2 separate regions of the Homo sapiens genome follow, and region 2 is linked to region 1. The links are contacts of gene promoters, found by promoter capture Hi-C in blood cells and fetal thymus (Javierre and others, 2016). All regions are on one chromosome and are shown on one strand. Each heading gives the region's core, a stretch centred on a gene start or on the middle of the fragment in contact. The rest is flanking DNA. Distances are from core to core; before and after follow the strand shown.

Region 1 (4,952 bases), core at 1,168-3,667:
TCCTATAAAATTGTTCGTTTTGCCTCTAATAATAAAGAAAAGAGGCACACCTCTGAGGATGCCTTTGTTTTCTTGAATTCTTCAGATATACATATTAAAATAAAGTTACCAATTTCTCAATTAAAGATGTCCAGGGTCAATGCAATGGTCTGGTTTGTTTTAACCAAAACACATGAAAAGTTTATGCCATTCCTTGTGCCATAAAATCTAGACTCAAACACAAGTCAAAATGATGCAACCAAATTTAATCTTTACCACCAAGGAAACCAAAAAGGAGGGCAGAGGGAGTATTTCCTCTAAAAATGATGGTCTGCTGGTCTGTGCTGAAAAACTGAAGACGTGTGTAAATCCTCACACCAGTAAGAACAGCCTCCGACTTAAAAAATTGCCCAGTTATCTTCAAGGATTATAGTTCATTCTTCTTTTAATTAATCTGGAAGAAGAGAAGGGGGGTTGGGGAAGAGTTACATTTGAATTTGCTCCAGAGGCCAAAGGGCCAATTTGAAACCAGTTTCTTTTATTTTTTTTTTTTTCTTTTTTTTACGGAGTCTCGCTCTGTCGCCCAGGCTGAAGTGCAGCGATCTCGGCATACTGCAACCTCCGCCTCCCGGGTTCAAGCAATTTTCCTGTCTCAGACTCCGGAGTAGCTGGGACTACAGGCACAAGCCACGACACCCGGCTAATTTTTTTGTATTTTTAGTAGAAACGGGGTTTCACCATATTAGTCAGGCTGGTCTTGAACTCCTGACCTCAGGTGATCCGCCCGCCCGGGCCTCCCAAAGTGCTGGAATTACAGGCGTGAGCCACCGCACCCGGCCGAAATCAGTTTCTTAATCTTAAACTGAGTTCAGTTTACCAAGGTGAAGCTTGAGTGATTTCTTTAAATCTAACACCAGTTTACTAGAAGAACATTCATTTAAATAGGAAAGCAATTTGGAGTTGCGTAAAGCGAGCAATAATATAACATAAAAGGCCTTTCGAGTTCAGAATATGAAGACTCTTAAGCAGATCATCTCAATTAGTAGTACCGGGGCTTTCTCAGCTATGCCATTTTAAGGGAGGGAAAAAAATCCATTACTTCATCTCCTATTTAAAAACAAAACAACAGTTTCATCCAAAAAAATCAGATAGGAGTTAACATATCTACCATATGTAACTAAGTTACAATTTTAAGTGGATTAATTCAGCTAGTCCGTGTACACTATTTTTCTGGAATGACTGCAGGCAAAAATTAACTTTCTCTTAAAAAAAGGTTAGCGATTTTACTTAATGGAAGCCAAAAGCTATAGACTCCACGCCTGGGAATCTCCATCCTTCAACAAGACTAATCCGGGACAAAAAGCACAAGGCAGACAAACCTCACAAAGAATGCAAATGGAGGAAGAGGGAAAAAGAAAAGACTCTTTTTCCACTTCCTTCTTGAGAGAAAAGCCAAAAGAAATCCAATAAATAGAAATTTTTGCTTCCCAAACTCTCAGCACTTTACCTTAAAACAGACCCAAAGGATTAAGGACCAATGCCACCAACCATCGTACAGACTTTCGTCCACCACAGGAACACACCTTACTCAACACAGGCCAAGGAAGAGAGCAAGAGGCATGACCTAGAATGGGGGAGCCCCTAAAACCCTGAAGTCCTCCGCCCACTCAAAGCCACCCACCTATCTCTAACCCGGAGAGAGGGAGAACAAGGGACACGGGAAGCCTGGGGGTGGGTGTGCAAGGGGGTGGAGGGAAGTAAAGGGAGGAGTCCCCCCACCCCCACCGGCGAGCCTGGGATAACCCCAAGTGCCCTCCCAACACCGCCCCCCCGCGGGGGCCGCGGGAAGGACTGTGGAAATCCACCCCCCCGCGCACCCTCTCCCTGGGAAGTTCTCGGGTGTCACCTCAGCGCCCCTAATGCTGCACCTCCCCGCGCCAGCCCCGGGCCAGAACGAAGAGGACACCAGGGCAGTTTAGGCGCCGGGCGCGGATCCCTGCGCCGCCGGGGGCTGACGGACCGGGTCGAGACCAGGGCATCCCCGCGGAGCGCTGCTGGACTGGGGGAGGGGGGCGGTGACGGGCGTCCGGGTCTCCGGGGTCCCCGCGGCTCCCGTCAACTACAGCGCCCTGCCCTGCCGGCGCCCACCGCCTGGGGCCAACGAAGCGTGATCAGCCGTGGAACACCCGCCTAGCGACCCCCTCTGGCCCCGACCCCACCCGGGACCCGCGCATCCAAACCCCCTACTCGGGCCTCGGTGCCCGGGTAAGCTCGACGAGCTTTGTGAATTCCCCACCGCCCCTGTCGCCGCCGTCGGGCTCCTAGGAGGGTGAGCGCCTCTGGCCTCCCGCCGCCTCCGCCGCGTCGCCGCCGTAAGCCGGAGCCGCACCTGTGCCCGCCGCCGCCGCCGTCGCCGCTCGCCCGCTCCCTTCGGCTGTGCCGGCGCGGCTCCGAACCCCACACACATCGCTACACACAGCCCTCTGACGTCACCGAGTCCTCGGCCCGCCCACGTCACTGCGGAGACACACAGCTTCCCGCAGACGCCGCCGCCGTCTCCGGCCGCCCGGGGGAGAGCGAGGGCGGCGGGGAGGGGGAGGGGAAGGGAACGGAGCCAGCGGCGGCGCCGCGCGCGCGGGCCCGCCGGCGTCGTCGCCGCCGCCGCCACTTCGCGGCTCCCGGCCCCCTCGTGGACGCGCGTGCCGTCTGGCCTATTGTGGCTCCTCAGAGCGCCCCCCTGGCCCCGTCGTCTCGCGCGCGTGCCCCTCCCCCCAGGCGCGCGCCCGGCGCTTCTGGCCCCGCGCGCCGTCTGGGAAGCTGGCGCGCGGCGCTGTCTGCGGTGCACCCGGCGCAGACAGGATGTTCCCTCCCCACCCCACCCTCACCGCCGCCCTCCCTCCTTCCTTCCTCTAGTCGCCCAGCCGGCTGTCTGGGGCCACCGCCCCGCCCCCGCCCCACCCGCCGCTCTGTGGTGATGGGCCAGACGCGGGGGCGCCCTGGCCGCTCGGACGCCGCGCAGCGGGGAAGAGGGGGCAGGGCAGCCGCGCGGTGCACTGTGCGCGACCCCAGCAGCCGGCAGGGCGGAGGCAGTGCCCGCCCGGCAGAGTGCCGCCGCCCGAGGTCAGGCACGGGCGACCCTCCCCCTGCGGGGCCGCAGCTGGGCCGCCCCGCCCCGGAGGCAGCCGGGCGGCGGCCGCCCTGCAGGGCCCCCGGGGCCGGCTCTGCTCCCCGCCCCCGCGGGACCTCCCTCCTGGGCTGCCCCTCGCCCCCGCGGGGCCTCCTGCCCGAGGGCCGCCCAGCCAGCTGCCGGCGCTCCGCCCCGCCCCGGCGGCCCCGGCCTCGCCCGGGCGGCCTCCACCCAGACGCCTTCCCCTGGCTGACCTCCATCCGCCATCGGGCCGGGCGGGAGGGGTGGCCAAAGTTCCGGCAAAACCGAGAGCAAACATTTCTGTCCCTACTCCCCAGCCTCCTGCCTCCACCCCACCAGGCTGCTCTCTCGGTTCCAGAAGGGAGCTATAAATTAAAGGTTTTTACAGTGTTTACTGAGGGTGTTTTTTTGTGTGTGTGTTTTTTTGGAGAGGGACGAGACGAGGTAGGGAAGATAGGACTCAAGAGCTTTCCGGCTGTGACCCTCTGAGGCGTGTAGGGTGGTCTTCCTGGTTCCCAGGGTAGCCGATTAGCATATTGAACTCTGCAGAGCTGCTCCGTCACATTTCGAAACACCAAGAAATCCCCTTTTCTCCACCCCACCACAAGATCAGGAACTGAAATAGTCCACCGAGTAGCAGTGCACAAAATTCAGGAGACTCGAGCTTTGTCCCTTTTTTCCCCCCCATTTTCGTCCAATTTCTTCTAGTTTTACTGCTTCGGGTTGTTCCTGTGGGGGCCCACATTTGCAGTCGGCCGGCTGGAAATACTCTTGTGCTCGTACTTTTTATTTTTTTTTTCCTCACAACAGGCCTCCGAAAGGCTCACAAGCCTCTCAATCCCCACCACTCCCCGCACCCCCACCCAAGTTCCCTTCCTTAGGCCTCCACCGCCGAGCTCCCAGGTCGTGCCCCCTCTCCACCCCGCCCCCCCACCTTTTCTTCCTTCTTGACTGCCTCCTTTCCTGAACATGAATAATTCCACAGCACTTTCCATCTGTTATTGCCATAGAGACAGAAGCGTGGCAAAGATAATGATGTTCTGTGCAGAGCCAGTGGGGGAAAAACAGCATCTGCGAGTCTAGGGGGATAGATTTTCTAACTGTGAGAATATTCAGAAGGCCTAGCTGAAGATCTGATGTGAAGACTGGACAGTCCTGAAACTTGGCACCAGGTCAACTCTCAGCACCTGGCTCCTGTGTCTAGCCAGAAGTAACAATTTTTAGAAACCAACATGACTGGTTAATAAAAAAGTAATTCCAAAACTGCAATTATTAATAAATGTTTAGCAGTCATTTTACCAGCCATAAGAATAATTACTTGCTAGCATGTCCAAGGACGAAGATAAATTGGACAGTAAATAGACTTTTGAGAAATCAAACACATTAATCCGCCTCCCCGTTCTGTTGATTTGCATTCCTCAGAAATCTGTTTTTGAGAGATCTTTCATGCCTGTGATTTTAAGTGCAATGGTTTGACAAATAGTGACCGGCAAATATGACTAGAACCAATCAAATTTGAGGGCATTTATTTTTCCCTTATTGGTCAAAGTACAAAATGCATCAAATTAAAATCATTTTGTCCTTGAATTCCCAAACCTCAAAGGTACGCGTTTGAAAGCAAGTGAAACTGAACGGGGTCCATTTATACATAGATCTGAGGCAGATGGGGAGGCTCACAGGAAGGCACATTTTTGCAGGCCTACTTAAGGATTTTCAGAAGTTATCAGTAAAATTGATTGTATGTATCATACGACATTGAACACAAATGATAATGGTTCTTTATTCCAAATACAGAATTGCACAGACACAGAAAATGCAGGCCTTA
Region 2 (4,952 bases), core at 1,712-4,211, 2.4 Mb before region 1:
GAGCGGTCCAATAGTTGTAACAGCCTTAATTTAGAATCAATGATAAATTCTATCCAGCCCTATTATTTTAAGTCTTCTACACTCAACCATTTCCAATGAAAAGGCATTAAAGTGGCTTTCATTCAAAGTCCCCTTAAAAGAATGTTTAAAAAAAAAAAAAAGTCAGGAGATGAGCTAACCTGCTTTAAGGACTGGAAGAGGAAAATCAAAAATACCATTTGAAAGGCCGGACGCGGTGGCTCACACTTGTAATCCTAGCACTTTGGGAGGCCAAGGCGGGCGGATCACGAGGTCAGGAGTTCGAGACCAGCCTGGCCAACACAATGAAACCCCGTCTCTACTAAAAATACAAAAATTAGCTGGGCTTGGTGGCAGGCACCTGTAATCCCAGCTACTCAGGAGGCTGAGGCAGGAGAATCGCTTGAACCCGGGAGGCAGAGGTTGCAGTGAGCCGAGATCGTGCCACTGCACTCCAGTCTAGGTAACAAGAGGTAGACTCCGTCTAAAAAAAAAAAAAAAACTTCTTGAAAATATTTACATTTTTCTCCTATGCCTCCCTCTTTAAGAGGGAGCACAGCAAATGATCAAAAGCAGATGATTAATAAAAGGGAGGGAGCATAGCAGATGATCGAAAGCAGATGATTAATAATTAAAATTGCCCCTGATGATACTGTATATGATCAATTTATTGCCAAAACAGCTTCAAAATGTATAGAGAAAAAGAGATGCACTACGGTAACTTGATGACATAACTAACATCCAACAGTCAGATTAGAAATGGAAATATATTAATCACTTTTTTTCAAATTACTGTATTCCAGAAGCCTTTAAAATAAGCACAATAGGATCAGTGTTCATAAACCTACACAGCTTCTCACCCAAGAACAGACCCAAGGAGCTTCTAACTAAACACACTATAACACATGCCCCCTTTTATCCCAGAGATAAAATTTGCCATGTAAACAAACATTCAAGTTTCCTTTTACTTAAATACTTTTTAGGCAATCATCTTCCAAGGTGAAGGACTAAAATGCAATCCAAGATATAATGGTGGTGTTATTAACAATAACATTACTATTAACAACTGACATTTACTTAACGCTTAATACGTGGCAGACATTGTCCTAAACCTTTTAATCTCTGCAGTAATCCTAAGAGGCAGGTACTATTATTATTTTCAATGTATGGATGAAGAAACGTAGGAACAGAGAGGTTAAGCAACTTCCCCTAAGTCAAACTGTTAGTAAGGGGTAAAAGAGGTATTCAAAGCCCGGCTAAATCCAGAGGCTGCGCCTTTAACCACTAAGCCGGACACATCTGTGCCGGGTGGCTGGGGAGGACGAGGGGCGGATGGCCTGGATTTATCTTGCAAAAACGAAAAATTAAACTTCCCGCAAAGAAGCCAGGATGAATCCTAGAATAAAACCACGGCGCACTCTGAGATAAGCCCCCAAAGGCTGCAAGTGCCGGCCCCCAAAGCCACAGGGCTGCGCGGCTTGCCAAAATCCCTTTCCCAACTCCCTCCCTTCACCCACACTCTTCTGTCCAAAAGAGCCAACAGGTGAGGGCGAAGATGCCCAGCAATACTGGGGGCTTCGGTCTCCCACTCCGCGTCAGGGCCCGGCTGCTGGGGGTGGGGTGCGGCGAGGGAGTTCCCGGATCCGGGAAGCCTGAGCTGGGGCGCTCCGGAATTCGCGGTCACTAGGGGCGGGGACGTCGACCGCAGGCAAAAGAGCCCTTGGCTCTGGAGCCGCTCGCCCACTTGCACCTCTCTCACTCACACAGAGTCCTTACCACTCTCAAAAAAGCCCTAGGAGTTCCACCTCTTCAAACGCCGACTCCTCTCACAAATACCGCCATTCCTCGCCGGCGGCCGCCACAACCGATTCAAAAACTAAGCTGCTCTCTCTAAGAGCCATGCCGATTGGCGCGTGATGTCAACCTCTTTCCCATAGGCAGGAGTCTCCAGAGGGGCGGTGATTGGTCGACGCTCTCCAAGTCCCGGCAGGCGCCGCTTGATTGGTTGTGCGTGTGTTTCAAATAAGCCCAACGACTCGGGCGTCGGGACGCCAGGAGTTTGCAGAGAAGTGCCCGGATGTGGCCAGGAGGTGGCGGTGGTGGCTCCTGAGGTCTTAAAGGAGTAGCAGGTGTTTCTGTGACTACCGCATATTTACTCAGTAAACATCCTACTTCCTGAGGAAAGTTTGGGTGGATTCTCCTCGGCCCCACCCAGCTTTTTTTTTTTTTTAAACGATACCAAATCTTTTAAGCTTAAATCAGTGCCGCCAGAGATAAATGTTTCCCTGCTGCTTGCTGTGAGCTGTAGGATTTTCCTATCGGGATGCTTTCTGCTTTAGGAATGTATTTAAATTTGAGTTAAGGGATTTTGACTTTGATGGTTGTATTGGCGTGTGGCAGGGCCAAGGACCGGTCCTAGAACTCGGACTCCCCAGGTGGACTTCAAATCAGCAGCCGCTTATTTAAATGCTATTATTTAAAGCACTGCGCTCCCATCTAGGGAGTATCGCGGGTTAGAATCAATTCTTAGAAATTAGAAAAATTCTCGGATTTTTTTAAAGATAAGCTTGAATTTGATAAAAATATGCCACGAGATTCTAGAATTTTTGGAGCCAAATTGCTTCGTCTTTGCCCCCCTCCGCCCACTAAGAACTTGTACTTTCCCCTAAAGTCTAGTCAAGAATGTATCAAGTTTTTCCTGTGATTAGCGTTGCTATTATGAAAATAATTTCTTTATTTTCTAAATATGATACCATATAACACAATCTCTTAAGAAAAATACACCCCCACCAGGTGGGTTTTCCATAGTTCCCACCTGAAGGCTAATATAAATAGAAGAAGAAAGGGGAATCAGATGCCAGAACCTAAATACCAATAAGAAGAGGCAAACGTGTACTTTGGGATGGAACACTTGTGAGCATCTCAAGCAGGTTGTGGGGACTTAACAATTTTTTCTAATTTTGTCAGGCAATCTTAGAATGCCTGAAAAGTTTATAATGCTGTCCACAAAATGAATGAAGCAATCTGGTAATTATTGGTTTCCCTGCTTGTCAGTATTTAAGTCTGACCTTCATTAAAATGCTGTGATAACTGTTACGGCAGAAAAAAAGAAAAACAGTAATTGAAATTTCCATTTGGAATGTGCTTGCGTATTTGGAAGTCGGGTGTGCCCAGCATTCCAAAAACGTTCATCACTGAAAACATATTAAGCTATTGTGGGAAGCAGCCCTACTTCCTTTGTGCACCGCTTTCTGCTCAACAGACTTTCCAAAGCTAATGATTAACTGTGTATGGTATCATTGCCATGAATTTTAAGCTTCCCTAACAAAAGCTGTACTTGATTTCTTTTAAGGGATGTGTGGCAGTTAGATTAACAAATAAACGGGTAATACAACCTTTTTCACTCTCTTAGGTCTTCATTTACTCAGCAAATATTTACTAATTTTAAGACAGCCATTGTGCTTGTTGGGGTTATAAAGATGAATAAGGCATAGAAAACTGCCTGTCTGGACCACACAATCTGGTGAGGGAAATTAGCAGATAAACAGATAATTACAGTATAAGGGAGAGAAGAAAGAGAATGAACATACTGATACTTTACTATGCACTTTATACCTTATTTAATCCTTAAAACAACCCACAAGTAGGTATCATAGTCCCATGATACCATGAAACTGTAGGAAAGGTTTAAGTAACTTACCCAGTGTCTCCTAATAAATATTTTAGCCCGCATTAGAACCCAGAAATAATAGATGAGTGTAAATAAAGTCTAGTATAGATCTGTCTGCAGGCTCAAAGAAAGCAATGTGGAGAGGAGTATTTCAGATAATCGTGTGCATAGGTGATCATATGCCACTTAATTGCACCTAGCAGAGGGCTGGTGTCTGGTAAAGTAAAACATGATCCCTCATCTTCAGGTATTTTCAAAAAGCTAGTACTGCAAAGGCAAATGTTACACATTGCTCTCTAATAAACACAGGAATCTTCACATGTAGGTACCAAATAAATATTTCGAGAGTGAATGAGCTAGATCCAAGTTCATTCATAATGTTTGAGAGACTGGATGTCCTGATTAACCTAATCATAGTTTATTCATTTAATAACTATTAAGCACCCATTAGGTACTATGCTAGCACTGAGAATATAGGTGTGACAAGACAAATATGGGCCTTGTTCTCATGGCACTTCTAGCAGATAGCTGTATTTGCGGTGAAAAATTTATTGCATGCATAGGTTTTCACAGAATTCAAATACCTACAAAACAATGATACAAGTAACTTAGTCTTACTGAGTCAGAAGCTGTTTCAAGTGCTATAGTGTTTCAAGATCAGCATTATGAAAAATTTTTAAATACTATATACGGCATAGGCAATTGAACTGAATGGCATATTAACCTTGAACTTTTTTAAAAACATAAATTCTTAATATTAGCTTGTTTACGTGCACTTTAGGCTCTCATAAAAGCTCAATATATATAGGAGACAGTAAACAGTTTGGTGTGGCTGGATCATAATATACATGAAGAGGACAGTGGAAGACAACTGACATACGCTAGGTTAGGCTAGGTGTGGGGGCTCATGCCTATAATTCCAGCACTTTGGGAGACTAAGGCAGGAGGATCCCTTGAAGCCGGGAGTTCAAGACCAGCCTAGGTAGTGACTGCACTCCATCCTGGGCGATAGAGCAAGACCGCCCCTCCCCCCCACCATCCAGCCCCCATCTCAAAAAAAAATAAATGCTGGCCAGGTGCAGTGGCTCATGCCTGTAATCCCAGGCATGAGATTACATGCCTTTGGAAGGCCCAGGCGGGCGGATCACGAGGTCAGGAGATCGAGACCATCCTGGCTAACATGGTGAAATCCTGTCTCTACTAAAAATACAAAAAAATTAGCCGGGCGTGGTGGCACGCGCCTGTAGTCCCAGCTACTCGGGAG

Evidence for each region. The method cuts DNA at HindIII sites, captures the fragments that hold promoters and counts their contacts. A CHiCAGO score of 5 or more calls a contact.
Region 2: a contact is called between a fragment that was not itself captured here and the fragment with the promoter of SKIL in region 1, in 1 of 17 cell types (fetal thymus). The highest score is 5.2, in fetal thymus.

What each region holds. Positions count from the first base shown.
Region 1 is chr3:170,355,180-170,360,131 of GRCh38, reverse strand. SKIL (SKI like proto-oncogene) reads right to left here and starts at 2,417. Exons shown (of 7, transcript NM_005414.5): 1 at 2,369-2,417; 2 at 1-433. RefSeq lists silencers at 1,835-1,904, 1,995-2,124, 2,175-2,404, 2,565-3,464 and an enhancer at 3,745-3,844. The HindIII fragment of the contact is 9,771 bases long and covers 869-4,952 here.
Region 2 is chr3:172,747,700-172,752,651 of GRCh38, reverse strand. It overlaps ECT2 (epithelial cell transforming 2), which reads right to left and starts at 1,926. Exons shown (of 25, transcript NM_001258315.2): 1 at 1,795-1,926. RefSeq lists a silencer at 1,511-1,580 and enhancers at 1,691-1,950, 1,971-2,020, 2,121-2,390. The HindIII fragment of the contact is 750 bases long and covers 2,587-3,336 here.